2 separate regions of the Homo sapiens genome follow, and region 2 is linked to region 1. The links are contacts of gene promoters, found by promoter capture Hi-C in human tissues and cell types (Jung and others, 2019). All regions are on one chromosome and are shown on one strand. The core of a region is centred on a gene start or on the middle of the fragment in contact, and the rest is flanking DNA. Distances in the headings are between cores, read along the strand shown.

What was found. The method cuts DNA at HindIII sites, captures the fragments that hold promoters and counts their contacts. A contact is called where the count stands out against the background at its distance.
Region 2: a fragment that was not itself captured here is called in contact with the fragment with the promoter of SYN3 in region 1 in 2 of the 25 tissues and cell types used here (H1 embryonic stem cells and small bowel).

The regions. Positions count from the first base shown.
Region 1 is chr22:33,055,952-33,062,725 of GRCh38, forward strand. It overlaps SYN3 (synapsin III), which reads right to left and starts at 2,430. Exons shown (of 14, transcript NM_003490.4): 1 at 2,341-2,430. The HindIII fragment of the contact is 13,516 bases long and covers 1-6,774 here.
Region 2 is chr22:32,621,800-32,628,573 of GRCh38, forward strand. All of the region lies in intron 6 of SYN3 (synapsin III), which reads right to left. It overlaps LOC107985545 (a long non-coding RNA gene), which reads left to right. Exons shown (of 3, transcript XR_001755504.2): 1 at 1-117; 2 at 2,154-4,116; 3 at 6,547-6,774. Among named protein-coding and RNA genes, the nearest start is that of SYN3-AS1, 50 kb to the left of the region's middle. The HindIII fragment of the contact is 3,550 bases long and covers 2,616-6,165 here.

The sequences.
Region 1 (6,774 bases), core at 1,180-3,679:
CCAATGAAAGCACTTTGGAAAGTGTAACAAATCATAGAGTTGTGAGTGATTGTTATTATTATAATTATTATTTTGTGGCAAAAGAACATCAACTTGGTTGGGTTTTGGAAGAGACTGGGTTTACTATAAAATGAGAATAAAAGTACCTAAGTTGGAGTATTATTGGACAACTAGAAGAGAATGTATATACATAATAGACACTCAAAAAAGGGAAGCAGTAGTCTTCGTGGCTATTATTATTAAAAGCTCCTCACAAAAGCTGACTCAACTCGAATTCCAAAACTCATTTTCAGGTGCAGTCATGAAACTTAAAGGTGAGAGAAATGAATACTTTTAAGATATCTACTATGCACCAGGCACAGTACAAAGCACTACTTCATTTGTGAGGTAGTGTAGTGGATACCGTGGGGAAATGCTCAACTCCCCCTCCAAGACCAAGACACTCATGACTTCCCCATGTCCAGCTGCCAGAGTGTTGGTTACCCCAGCTCCCAGGTGAGTCCCTAGTCAGGAACTGTCCTGCTGAAGGGACATCCTAGCTCCCTCCCTAGGACCAGCCTGCACCCACTGGCTGATCAACATTAAGCTTCAAAGGCCTCGTCTCTTTGTCTCATGGGAGGGATTGAGACCTCTCTTGCACTGCACCATAGATCAACATCTCCCTCTGCCCAGTTCTGCTTCCCTTATCTGCACAAAAATCTCAGAAGCGCCAAGTCTTTTTCCAGGGAACCCAAACCATGACAGGTGAGTACAATGATTTCCTTTTAAATCAGAAAAAGAAGGTTCATGAAGGTTGCTAATGTCCCCAAAGCCTATGGCTAAAGTGACTTTCTGGTCTGATTTCCCAGCGAGCCCTTGTTCTTTCTACTACACCAATCTACACACAGCCTTGCCTCCAATGGCTGAGACTGGATCTCTGTGAAACAGAAAGGGGAGCCCAGGCAGAGGGGAAGGGCACACAGAGGGCTTGAAGATGAGAAAAGAAGAGCAGAGGCACCCTTCAGAGGCCTGATGACAAGACTGAGGTCACAGGCTCCAGAAACAATATCAAAATGATGTGCAGGCTGCAGAAGCAAGCATTACACGGGCAGCATCTCTTTGCCTGAATCCATGTCCAGAAGCCAGGGAGCAGGGCTCCCGGGCAGAGGGGGCTCCCTTAAGCAGGGAAGAGTATTTGCAGCCAAGGACCAGAAAACAACTACAACTTACCAGCTTTCTGATGCTCCGGCCTCCATCCATTGTCCCCAGAGCTGCCAGAGGGACCTGATCACTGATCAGAATTCTTCCACGGCCCTCCTTCATTCCAGGATAAAATTCTAAATATTCTAAGGCTGCACTTTAAGGTCTGTGCAGGTTTTAGCTTCCTGCCATGTCGAGAGCTCATTTCCTACCTACAGCAAGACCCGGTCCTACTCCATTATCTGCTGTAGAATTATCTGATGTGCTAGGTCAGGACACCGGACCTTTTCAGTTTCTTTACCTTTACACAAGAAAACCCACCTGGAATTCCTGCTCCCTATCAACTCACAGTCCCAACACACTTTTCAGCCTGGCAAAACCTCCGACTTCCAGTCAATGCTCACCTCCTCTCTGAAACCTTCCTGGCTTCCTCACCGTCCTCTTCTCCATCTCGAGTCTTCCGCACTACCCTGCACTGCAATTGCTCCTCCTACTGTCCCTCTTAGCCCCAGAAGCTCCCCAAAGGCCATTCTTCATGCTGCTAGGGCTTGGCACAGTTCCTGGCACTCAGAAAAAGCCAAGTAAGTGCTGGATAGATACACGAGGTGCTGTATCCATAGCTATTCTCTGCTTCTAGCTTGGCCAGGAAACCACTCTGAAATTTCATCCTGCCCCCAGGATGACTGGAAATCGGAAATGGCATGACAAACCTGACCTCCCAAACCCAAGGCAACAGGTCATGAGGGGTCTGGGGACCTAAGGCAGGTCCTAGGAGCCGGCGCAGAGCAGAGGTCCGGCCGCTGCGGTTCCTGGTTTCCCGCAAGCTCTTCCCCGGGCCGGGCGCTGGGTGGAGGCAGTCTTAGGATCCACAGTCTTGCGCGCCCCCGGCTCCCGGGCCCGGCAGACGGCCCCCGCACGCCGATCTGTCTGTCCCAGGGACCGGCCCAGGGCCCCGGCAGCGGCAGCCTGGGGAGACACCGTGGTGCGCGGCTCCTTGCCTCCCTCCCTGCCCCTCCGTGCGCCCGCATCCCGCGGACACAGAGCCGGAGCTCCAGGGGACGCAGCCCGACGCGAGAACGCACCAGCAGCCCCCGCTCGAGGTGGGGTCTCCCGGCTGTCAGAAACCCCACAAAGTCTACTTTGCGGCGCCGCGCCGCTTACCGTGCGAGCCGCCAGGAACTCGGCGCCCGGTGGTGCCTCGGCGCGGCGCCCGCCAGTCGATCCGCTCCGGGTCCCGGGAGCTCAGCCTCTGCCCCTCAACGCGCGCGAGCGCCCCCGCCCGGCGGCCCGGCCTCCCCGCGCCGCGGCGCCCCATTGGCTCGGGCAACGAGGCCCCCGGACGGCCCCGCCCACCCGCGCCCACTCCCTCGCCCACGCCTCTCCCCAACGCCTTGCTGGGTTCACCTCTCCAGGCAGGGAAAGTTGCTTCTAGACTCTGAGCTCTCACCGGACTCAGGAGCCCAGTTAGCTAATAATTCTGGGTCCCAGGAGTGTCTAGACGCCCCTCGGGGAGTGCGAAGAATGCAGTGTCCTTGGAATCCACCTTTGGGAAAGTCAGCTGACCTCCCGGACCTCAGGTGGCACCTCAGAGAAACCAGGGCCCCTTGTCAGGAAATGTCCCAGGTTGTGGGCTAGGCCCTAGGGCCAGGATGCAACAGGGAACAAGACAAAGTCTATCGTCCTCGTGGACTTTGCATGGGGTGGAGGTGGGGGTAGGTTATATACAACAAACGAAAAAAACAAGAGAATGTCGGCTGGGTGCCTGTGGCTCACGCCTGTAATCCCAGCACTTTGGGAGGCCGAGGCAGGTGAATCACGAGGTCGGGAGTTCAAGACCAGCCTGGCCAAGATGATAAAACCCCGTCTCTACTAAAAATACAAAAATTAGCTGGGCATGGTGGCCCTCACCTGTAGTCCTAGCTACTCGGGAGGCTGAGGCAGAATTGCTTGGACCCGGGAGGTGGAAGTTACAGTAAGCCGAGTTAGAGCCACTGCACTCCAGCCTGGGCAACAGAGCTAGATGCCGTCTCCAAAAAAAAGAAAAGAAAAAGAAAGGGGTCTAGGACTGCTATACCTAGGGTGGTCTCCGGGCCGCTTGTGATATTGGATACTTGGAGGACAAAAACGATTCCAGGGCTGAAGCAAGAGCATTGCTGACAGAGGGGTCGGCCGATGCATGGTTCTGAAGCTGGAACTGGCCCCCAGGGTGGCTGAGTGAGGTGAGCAAGGGGAGAGTGGGTTACAGCCAGAGAGGTAGACTAGTGTGGAATCACCATCACCCAGAACCTTGTAGGCCACCGTGAGGGTCAGGGCTTTGTCATATCAATCTGGAGGGAACAATTCAGGCAAGAGATTATGGTGATGAAGACCAGGGTGGTGACAGCAAGATACGGAAAAGGTGGACCTCCTGCAATGTGTGTCAAAAGTAGCACAGGAAGGCTTGATGATGGATTAGGCTGGATTTAGGGGATGCTATGGTTTAAATATGTTCCCCAAAGTTCATATCTTGGAAACTTAATCCCCAATGCAACAGTGTTGAGAGGTGGGACCTTTAAGAGGTGATTCCATTAATGCCAGGAGTGGCCCTCTCCCCACCCCTCTGCTGCTCTCTTGTTCTGCCTTGTGCCATGGGGTGACTCAGCATGAAGGCCCTTACCAGATGCAGCCCCTCAATCTTGGACTTCCCAGCCTCCAGAGCCATGAGCTAAATAAATTGTTGTTCCTTATAAATTACCCAGTCTGTGATATTCTGTTATATTGGCACAAAATAGACTATGACAGGGGTTGACGTAAAGGGATGAAAGAAGAAAATCTCCTAGGTGTTTAGCTTGAGCCACTGTGGAGTAATGGTACTATTTCCAAGATCGGGAAGGTTCTTACCCAGCATCTTCCACTTACTGCATGAGCGTTAGTACATGATCTCAGTAACTAAGAGGGAGTGACTCTAACCTCAGTAACTAAGAGGGCATAAGACTAGCTGAAGGATCACAAACTTTAATACCGACGTGGCCGGGTAGTCATGTACTAAGTGAGGTTGGCAGGGTATAATAGAAAGGAGGGATGGGGCTTGTGACAGACTGAGGTATGCACACCTGCCTAAGGTGACAGTCACTGCTCAGCTCCAACTGATTTTTGCCATATGTGAATGGAGACCCACCCAGAGTTGCCAGATGTTCTGTTTTTTGTTTGTTTGTTTTTTATCGAGACTGAGTCCTGCTCTGTCACCCAGGCTAGAGTGCAGTGGTGCGATCTCAGCTCACCGCAACCTCCGCCTCCCTGGTTCAAGCAATTCTCCTGCCTCCCAAGCAGCTGGAATTACAGGCGCCCACCACCACGTCTGGCTAATTTGTGTATTTTTAGTAGAGACAGGGTTTCACCATGTTGGCCAGACTGGTCTCGAACTTCTAACCTCGTGATCTGCCCACCTTGGCCTCCCAAAGTGCTGGGATTATAGGCGTGAGCCACCACACCAGACCCTGATTTTTATTAAGAGGCCAGAAATTCAGATTATGTTAAATCTCTGGTTTTTTTAAATGCTGGTAATTAACTACAACTTTTTTTTTTTTTTTTTCTGAGACGGAGTCTCGCTCTGTCGCCCAGGCTGGATTGCAGTGGATTGTCGAGATTGCAGTGGTGCAATCTCGGCTCACTGCAAGCTCTGCCTTCCGGGTTCACGCCATTCTCCTTCCTCAGCCTCCCAGGTAGCTGGGACTACAGGCGCCCGCCACCACGTCCAGCTAATTTTTTGTATTTTTAGTACAGATGGGGTTTCACCGCGTTAGCCAAGAGGGTCTCGATCTCCTGACCTCATGATCCGCCCGCCTTGGCCTCCCAAAGTGCTGGGATTGCAGGCGTGAGCCACTGCACCCAGCCAATTAACTAAAACTTTTTAAAAGACTGTATTGGCCAAGACTGTTGGACAAGATCAAACCCATGTATGGGCTGGATTTATCCCCTTAGGGACTATTTCCACCTCTGGATTAGACAATACCTCCAACCTTTTAAAGAAACCCTCATAGTGTCTGTCCAGATTGGATGAGAACAATAATGGGAAATAAAAGGATCAAGGAAATCCCAAATGAAAAACCCAGCATAGTCTTTAATGGCATTTGGCCCGCCCCTACCTCCATCTACCTGACATATATCTTCTAAGCCTCAGTTTCCCTCAGGCTAGAGCACAGCTCCTCCAAAACTCCTCCCAACTGTAACCTTTGGAGCTGTAACATCATCATAATTTTTCTTAACTACTGGTTTTCAAATATGCACAGGAATGTTGCTTGGGGAAACATGGAAGGTGTGTATTCATGTCTGGGTCTGTAAATCTAAAAGGCCTCAGTGCTGTCAGTCTGAAGCAAGGAAGGAAAGAGGAAACAGAATGGCATAGAGGTTTAGATGAAAGCCAGATAAATTATTGCATGGAAAATTATTTTTTATTGCACTCTGAATAAGAAAAAATGGCAATTAGATGCAGGAGTGCTTAATGGTTTCTACTGAAAATTCAATGTATTGTAGCCACTTCTCAATATATATCACCAAGGGTTTTGCAGTAATGAGGTTCTCCCATCATGCATTGGAGGTCAGCTGCATTCTAGCATTATTTATTCTTATGTACTGATCTCATGTAATCAAAAAGGCCTGAAAACAGAAAATCACTTTCTGTAGAGTCAGTCCCTTTTACTCCTATCTCCTCCACCTTAGACATCATTTAAAGCTGGAGAAATGGCTTATGATTTTATAAATTGCTGGGTTTTGTGTAGGAGGGTCAACATGGATTAGGAACCAGGAGACCTGAAACTAAGTCCTTGAATAACTTCTCTGAACCTTCTTCATCAGTAGAATGAGAGCTGACAAAAGGTGGCTTCCTAGAAGACTTGTTTATTTCTATTTGTACTCCATGTTTCTTTTGGGGGATTTTTTTTTTTTTTTGTATGGTGACCTGGCAATTCCCAGGGACAGATTCTTGCACAATTTGCCACTCCCCAACTACTCCAAAAATCCTTGAAGAAAGGATGTTGTCTAAGTTGAGCCTATTGGATGCTCACTCCTGGGACTTTCCCTCACCCGAAAGTGACAAAGATGAAGAGAGAAATTGGACATACTAAGACTGCTTGCTTACAGTAATGGTGGTGGCAGCAGTTTCCTGGACTCTTGGTCATGAATCTTGCCGCCCAACCTCGTGAATTTCCTAGATTTCTGTTTCTCAAGTTTGGTCCTGCCATCCCTGTCCCCTACCCAATTTTATTTTGTGAGTCTCCCATCTCTGTTAAAACTGTCTTCTTGTGTTAGCTACTCCAATTATTTCTCTTGCTTTTAACCAAAAATCCTCATGGATCTAGGAAGAAAAGAAACATATTGCATCATATGATCCTTTCCCCAGGGCAACAATTCAGCGCAGGAATTTGCATACAGATGGATGCACACACGGTGATAGGTATACATGTTCCCTCACTACTCAGTAAGAAATCCAACCCCATGGGGTGGCGGTGGTAGTGTTTAAAAGGTTATTTGTTTTTGAAAAGAACCCAAGTCTGCTATTCTTAACAGATTTTTTTTTTAAGTGAGCAGGCTCTTATAATAACAAAACCACTCTAGAAA
Region 2 (6,774 bases), core at 3,141-5,640, 430 kb before region 1:
TCACAGAGGGGAAAACTGAGGCTCAGAGAAATTAAGAGACTCACTCACGTTCACCCAGCTAAGAAGTGGAAGAGCAGGCCTCCTGACTCAGATCTATGTGTCCATCCCAATGCCCAGGTGAGCCTTGCTGGGTCCCCAGAGGTGGGGCTGAGGATGGTGACAGATAGGTATAACTCCTGATATAACTCTTCTGCTTGACCTGGGCACCTCATTTCCTCCCCTACAGGAAGGGTGGAGTGAGCTCTGTAAGTACAGGCTAGGGGTGGGGAATCTGAACCCCACAAAAGGCCCTGTTTGCTTACAGTCCGCACAGCTGGGCTGGATTAGTCCAGCTTCGTAAATAGCTTTCGAAAACCAGCCGACTGGAAAAGTCCACTTTGTCCTGGAGAATGCACAAAGGCCCCACCCACATTCATCACTGTCCGCTGCCCTGTCTCCCCAACCCTGACCTCTCTATCTTGTGGCCCATCTCCACCTCCTCCTCTGGGCCTCAGTTGAAAAGAAAATTCTCAAATCCCCGTTCCCACCTCTATCAAACTCTTGAAAGACAGAACTGGAAGGAGAGGCAAGGAAAAGGAAATTCCTTTGAGGTCGAGCTGCCTGGATTTCCTTCTGCATCCTGCCTCATTTCCATGGAGCCTACCTTTATTGATTTGGGACCTGGGTCTTGAGGAAACTGGGGGCTGAATTTGGGGCCATTAGTGAAGCCCAGGGCTGCTTCCTTCCTGAGGGGCAGCTGAGGGGGAGGCCCAGCGCTGGCCTCAGAGGAGAGCAGCTGGAATGTGTTTTCTCACAGCCACACTTCGGTTAACATTCCAGAAAGTCAGAGCTGGGAGGGGCTTCCAGATTAGCAAGTCCAAAAGACTCTGACCCTGGGTTCCCTTGTTGAGCTGCAAAGGGGCTGTGGATCTCCAGAAATCGGATGCAAAAAAAAAAAAAAAAAAAAGTTTCTCTGTACTAGTGAGGAATTGGATTTTTGCAGGGAGAGGCTTCAAGCTTCGTTTTCTTAAAGGGGGCTGAGACACTCTTCCTACAAGTTAAGGACACAGGATGTTTCTAGTTTAGCTTGTGTTTTATGTAGAAGGGGAAACTGAAGCCCAGGGAGGGGACATGACATGCTCAGGGACAGAGATGTGACTGAGCTCATTTGAGAGCACAGCAGAAGTGTAGTTTAGGGGAGGGAGGGGCGAGGGAGACTTGTTCCTCCTGAACACATTTTCCGAAAGTGGGGCCTTTTCAACAGTGTCTACCACAACAGATTAGCCAAACAGCTATTTAAAAAAGGGATCAGACTTTAATGGAAGGAGCATGAAAGTGAGATTGTGAACCCCAGGGAGAGAAAGTTGTCACAGATTGTCAAAGGATAGTTTTTGCTTTTTTTTTTGTCATAGTTTTTTTTTCAATGGAGACAAGATCTCACTCTGTTGTTCAGGCTGGACAGCTGGGGCATGATCATTACTCACTTCAGTCTTAAACTCCTGGGCTCAAGTGATCCTCCTGCCTTGGTCTCCGTAGTAGGCCAAGGGACTACAGATGCATGCCATCACAGCTGGCTACTATTTTATGTTTTATTTTTTGTAGTGATGGGGTCTCATTATGTTGCTCAGGCTGGCCTTGAACCCCTGAGCTCAAGTGATCCTCCCATCTCGGCCTCCCAAAGCACTGGGATTACAGGTATGAGCCACTATGCCTGGCCAAGTTTTTGAAAATATGTATTGTGCACTTCCAGCAATCAATGGCGGTCTTCCCATAACCCCAACCTGCCTGCCCTGCCTGGCCTGCAGGCCTAGCTGGCAAACCTGGATATGCTCCTGGATCCCTGGAATCCAGACGTGCCACTTCCCACTCCATTCCTCTCCTTGCCATTCATTCAGCCAATATTTATTGATTTCTTTAACTCTGTATGAGATGTTGTGGATACAGTGGTGAACAAAACTCCATCTTCATAGGACTTATTCAAATTGAGGAAACTGATGGCATTTTTCTAATAATAAGAGGGGACTTGGGTCCAGGGTGGGGTGGCTGAACTCTGTCGGAAAAACGCTTCTCTGTGAGTGCCGAGGTGTCCCCTCCCACCATAAAAGAGGGTTCTGACGGGAATCGAGGACACCAATGCCCATTTGTTTCAGATTCGACATTCTCCATCTTGACAGGGTCCCCAAGGTTCTCCTGAGTCCAAGGACACCGCTGCCTCCCAGCTCATAACAAACGATGCTCACAAGCATGCCAGCCCTCTCCTTCTATGAGGCAATCCTCGGAGGCCCTTGCCAAGATCAACTGTTTGGACTTCTGCCTTGAAAACTGATCCTCTTCCGAGTCCGGTTATTGCTTTTCTGAAACATGGGGACAGTGACATCATCGCTCCCTCCCTGGCTTGGGGATTTGGTGGTCAGCATGAAGTCAGGGTTTGGAACGGTGCCTGTTCTCTGCCAATGCCCAGGGAGGCCTGGGTTGGGGGCTCTGGAGTGAATTGGGCTTGCTGGGGAAGTCCCCAGAGGCTGGGTGGGGGGTCACTTTCAAACCTGTTGCCAGCATCTGGGTCTGCCTTGCAGTCCCCAGGATGAGCAGCATTCTGAGGAGGGCTGAACTGATGGTCGGTGGATACACACCTGCCCGGTCATACCCATTGTCAGGCTATTGAAATACTTTCATCTCATTGGTAGTCATTTACCGGGAAGACTTCCTGCCACCTTAGCTGTACTGGCTTCTCCCCTGGGCCACCTCTCCATAACTCCTACCATCTAACACCTGTAGGGACCTGTCCAACAGTACTCTGATTGTTGGTGCCCTGCACCACACCCATGGATAAAGATTTCGGCGATGACTCCAGGATCGGAGTGGAGCTGTGAGAACTTGGGCTGGGCCTTTGGTCGCTGGGCACCTGCTGGAAGGCACTGCCATGTGGAAAGAGGCAAGGTCCACATCTAAAGTTCCCAGGTCTGGGCCCTGCCAACAGGAATTCTCTCCTGCCACGGTGGGACCCATTCCTTGCACAGTCACCGGTTAGCATTTCCTTGCCAGAGGCTGAAAGGCATCTCAGGGGTATTCTAGTCCTGCCCGCTAATTGTACAAGGAGACTCTGCAGCTCAGAAAGAGGATGTCACTTGCTCAAGTCAAATAAGCTGGTGACTGACCTAAGCCTTCTGCCTACCCTCTAGGTCATGATTCTCAAGGCACACAAAGATCCTGGCTTCAGAGACCATGAAGACATTCTAAACCTTCTCCTATCACTTGCCCGCTGCCTTTCTATGCCCAGGGTTGGTTTATTGGCATACCCAGCACTTTCTCTAGTTGGGTGGATTTTAGAATTAGCTTCAGCAGGGAGCCCGTCACAGTCATGTCACTCCATAACCTGGCATGCACCTAGGTAGGAACCTCAGTCTGGCAGCCCACAGGCTGAATGTGGACGGATTTCACTGGGACCACCCAGTGTTGTTGATTTTTCTTTCTAATGGAATAGATTGCCCACACTTAGAAAGTGAGGGATTTCATACAAAACTGTGGATATGGGGCTTTTTGGAACAATGGTTAGATCCAGCCATCCATGTGCCACGTTTCTGCAGGCAAGACCAGCTCCCTATAAATGGGACAGATGCTCTAGTTTGTCACCAACCACCCCTTTCTCCCAGCTGGCTTTGGTCCTTTGCTGGCCTGAAGGCACCCAAGTTTGCCATCCCCAGCCCAGAGTTATCTCAGTACATGACACGGCCTTGCTTTTTGTTTCTTGGAAAAGTTGTGGTCCAGACGGAATAAATAGACCACTTTAGCATCCTTCTTCTTTCTTCACACATTCAGGCCATTTTGGATAAGGGAGATGTTTGGGGTCTCAGGCTTATCACAGGGACAGTCATTGGTTGACCACCTGGCTGTGACTTCCAAGACTCCTTCCTTCTGCTCTTCCCACCTCTTCCCCTGACAGTGCCATGATCTCCAACCAGGCTACCCAACTCCTGACATTCCATGGCTGAGCTTTGGACTGAGTTGTGCAGATGCTTACTGAGCACCTGCAATGTTGACGCCATGTGAGGATTCAAGCAAGAGCAAGACACATTTTTGGATGCTTAGTCTTAAGGATCTAAGTCTTCTTGTGCACAACAGATAAAGATATCGATAACCGTAAGTCAAGGCCAAATATTCTGCATCACAGGAAAGGTTTCAAATCAGACAGAGCTCACGTCTACTGGGTGGGGAAGGAGGAATCAGGAAAGGCTTAAGGAAGGAGGAATCAGGAAAAGCTTAAGGAAGGAGGAGGTGTTTGAGATGGACCTTGAAATGACCGTGAAAGGAAATGGTTGGGGGTAGAGGGAGGAAAGGGTGTTCCCAGTAGGCAGAGGGAATGGCTTGAGAAGAGGCTGGGCTTGGGAGGAGACTGTGCTGAGGGTGCCTCTTGTGCAACACAGCTTGGCCAGCACTCACAGGCAGGACACACCACACATCTTTCCTGCCACCCTCCTCTGCACCCAGGGACACACACGCATCTCTCTGGGCAGGGGCACACTCAGAAGCTGAGACTTCTGTACACCTCCCAAACCTGACAACAATGTGTGCTGAGATGTTAGGGATGATGTGGGACCTAAGGTGGCAAAGATGGGCTGCGGTCATTTCTGGGAGGGCTCTGATCGTCCTGGTAGAAAGTGGGGTTAGAGTAAGGCAGGGAACCTGTTCAAGTGTAGACAAAGAGAGAAGAGTTCATTAGGAATTTACAGCTTTGAGTAAACAAGGACCGAGAGTAGGTTTTTCAGAGGGGAGGAAGGAAGGCGGGAAAGGAATGAGCACTTGGGCAGAGCTGAGAAAGATGGGGACTCTGTTGACCTGCCCCAACCGGGGAATGGTGGAGCAGGGAGAAGTGTGGGAGCACAGACTCATGAACTTGCCACAAAAGAATCACAGAATTTCTGATGTGGAAGAGGCTTTGGTGCTACCCAGTTTAACCCCCTTATGTTATGGAGGACACTGGGTGCCCCGAGTGTGGAGGTGCGGGCACCAATCCTAGGGTGACAAAGCTGTCGTTTTATCTTCCACAGCGTCTATCATGTAGTAGGTATTTGGTGAATGTGTGTTGAAACGATGAAAATGTTGACTTCTACCTAGAACTGACCTCGTAAAATGGAAAATGAGGTCCCTGGACACCTGGTTGGTTGGCAATAATTTCCATGTAAAGGTGTTGTCTCCCTGCACCCCCAGCTTTGGAGGAAGCCCCCAGATGATGCTCTTATGCCCCCACACAGAGTCTCAGTTCCCATGGAGGGCCTGCCACTGGCTGGGGCGTCGAGGGGTAGCGAGCTGTGCGGTTCCTCCTTCCCTCCCACCCACCCTCCCGGGGTCGTTGTGTAAGTGGGGGGTGGCAGTGCGGCGGGCGGGTAACTTCCTGCAACAGCGGCAGGGCTGGGCATCCGAGCTGGCACGGTTCAAGTGCACCACAGCATTCTGAACATTTGGGAACACAGGAAGGGCTGCGTTTTTTAAGCTCCCTTTGTTTTCAAGGAGGGGCCAGAGTCCATGGGGAGGAAAGAAACAAAACCAGGAAAACAGATGACTTGCTTTGCAAAGATAGTGTGTACGTATGCTGCAGCTTCTGTGAGCCCTAATGCTCTGCTGTCCCTCTACACTTATGCACACCTACACACCCTGACGCACACTCACGGCAGGTCACACCACACATCTGTACTTCCATCTTTCTCTGGCACCCAGGGATGCAGACACACATCTACCTGGGCAGGGACACACCCAGAAGCTGAGACTTTGATACACAGAGACACCTCCCAAACCTAACCACAGAGGGACATCCACACACATGGATGGGCAAGTGCAATCATACACACATGTAGGAGTATGAAGCTTTCATGCATAGACATCCAGACACCCAGACACACACAGAGACATGCTCGGAAACTCCAAGACCCCCATACTTATAGAAAGATCCAGACTGAACACACACACACACATATGCAGGCTTGTGTACACACCCATCCCTCCTTGAAGAAGCTCCACCTGTACAAACACAGAGGAGCATTTTTTTTGTTTGTTTTTGTTTTTGTTTTTGTTTTGAGACAGAGTCTCACTCTGTCGCCCAGGCTGGAGTGCAGTGGCACCATCTCGGCTCACTGCAAGCTCCGCCTCCCGGGTTCAAGTGATTCTCCGGCCTCAGCCTCCCGAGTAGCTGGGACTACAGGCACATGCCACCACGCCCAGCTAATTTTTTGTATTTTTAGTAGAGACGGGGTTTCACCGTGTTAGCTAGGATGGTCTCGATCTCCTGACCTCGTGATCCGCCCGCCAAATCCCAAAGTGTGGGGATTACAGGTGTGAGCCACCGCACCCGGCCAGAGGAATGTTTTTACCAGGGGTCCAGGGAGCCTGCACACCCTCAGCCCTGCTCTCGGCTACCAGAAGAGTGTGGGCAGGCAAGATACAGTTCCAAAAGGCTCCACAGAGAGGGGCCAATGAGTCCTTTTGCTTTTCCCCTTGCTCTTGATGTTAGTGTTTCTAGAAGCTTCCATGTAGTGCCCTCATTTAATTTACAAGTTTGAATTCTTCTTTCACAAGGTATATTGAAGACCATTACTGGAAGTGAGGGGAGATGAGGAGGAAGAGGCCCTGGAAGGACATCTGGGACTGGTGGGAACAGCAGCTGGATTACCTGCTCCTGCCTGGGGATTTCTCTACATTCCCAAGCTGGTGCTGACAAAGTGCAGCCCCAAAGAGGCTGGGCCAGAGAGATTGGAAGAAGAGCTCTCAGGGGACTCCCACAATTCCTCTGACAATAAAATGAGA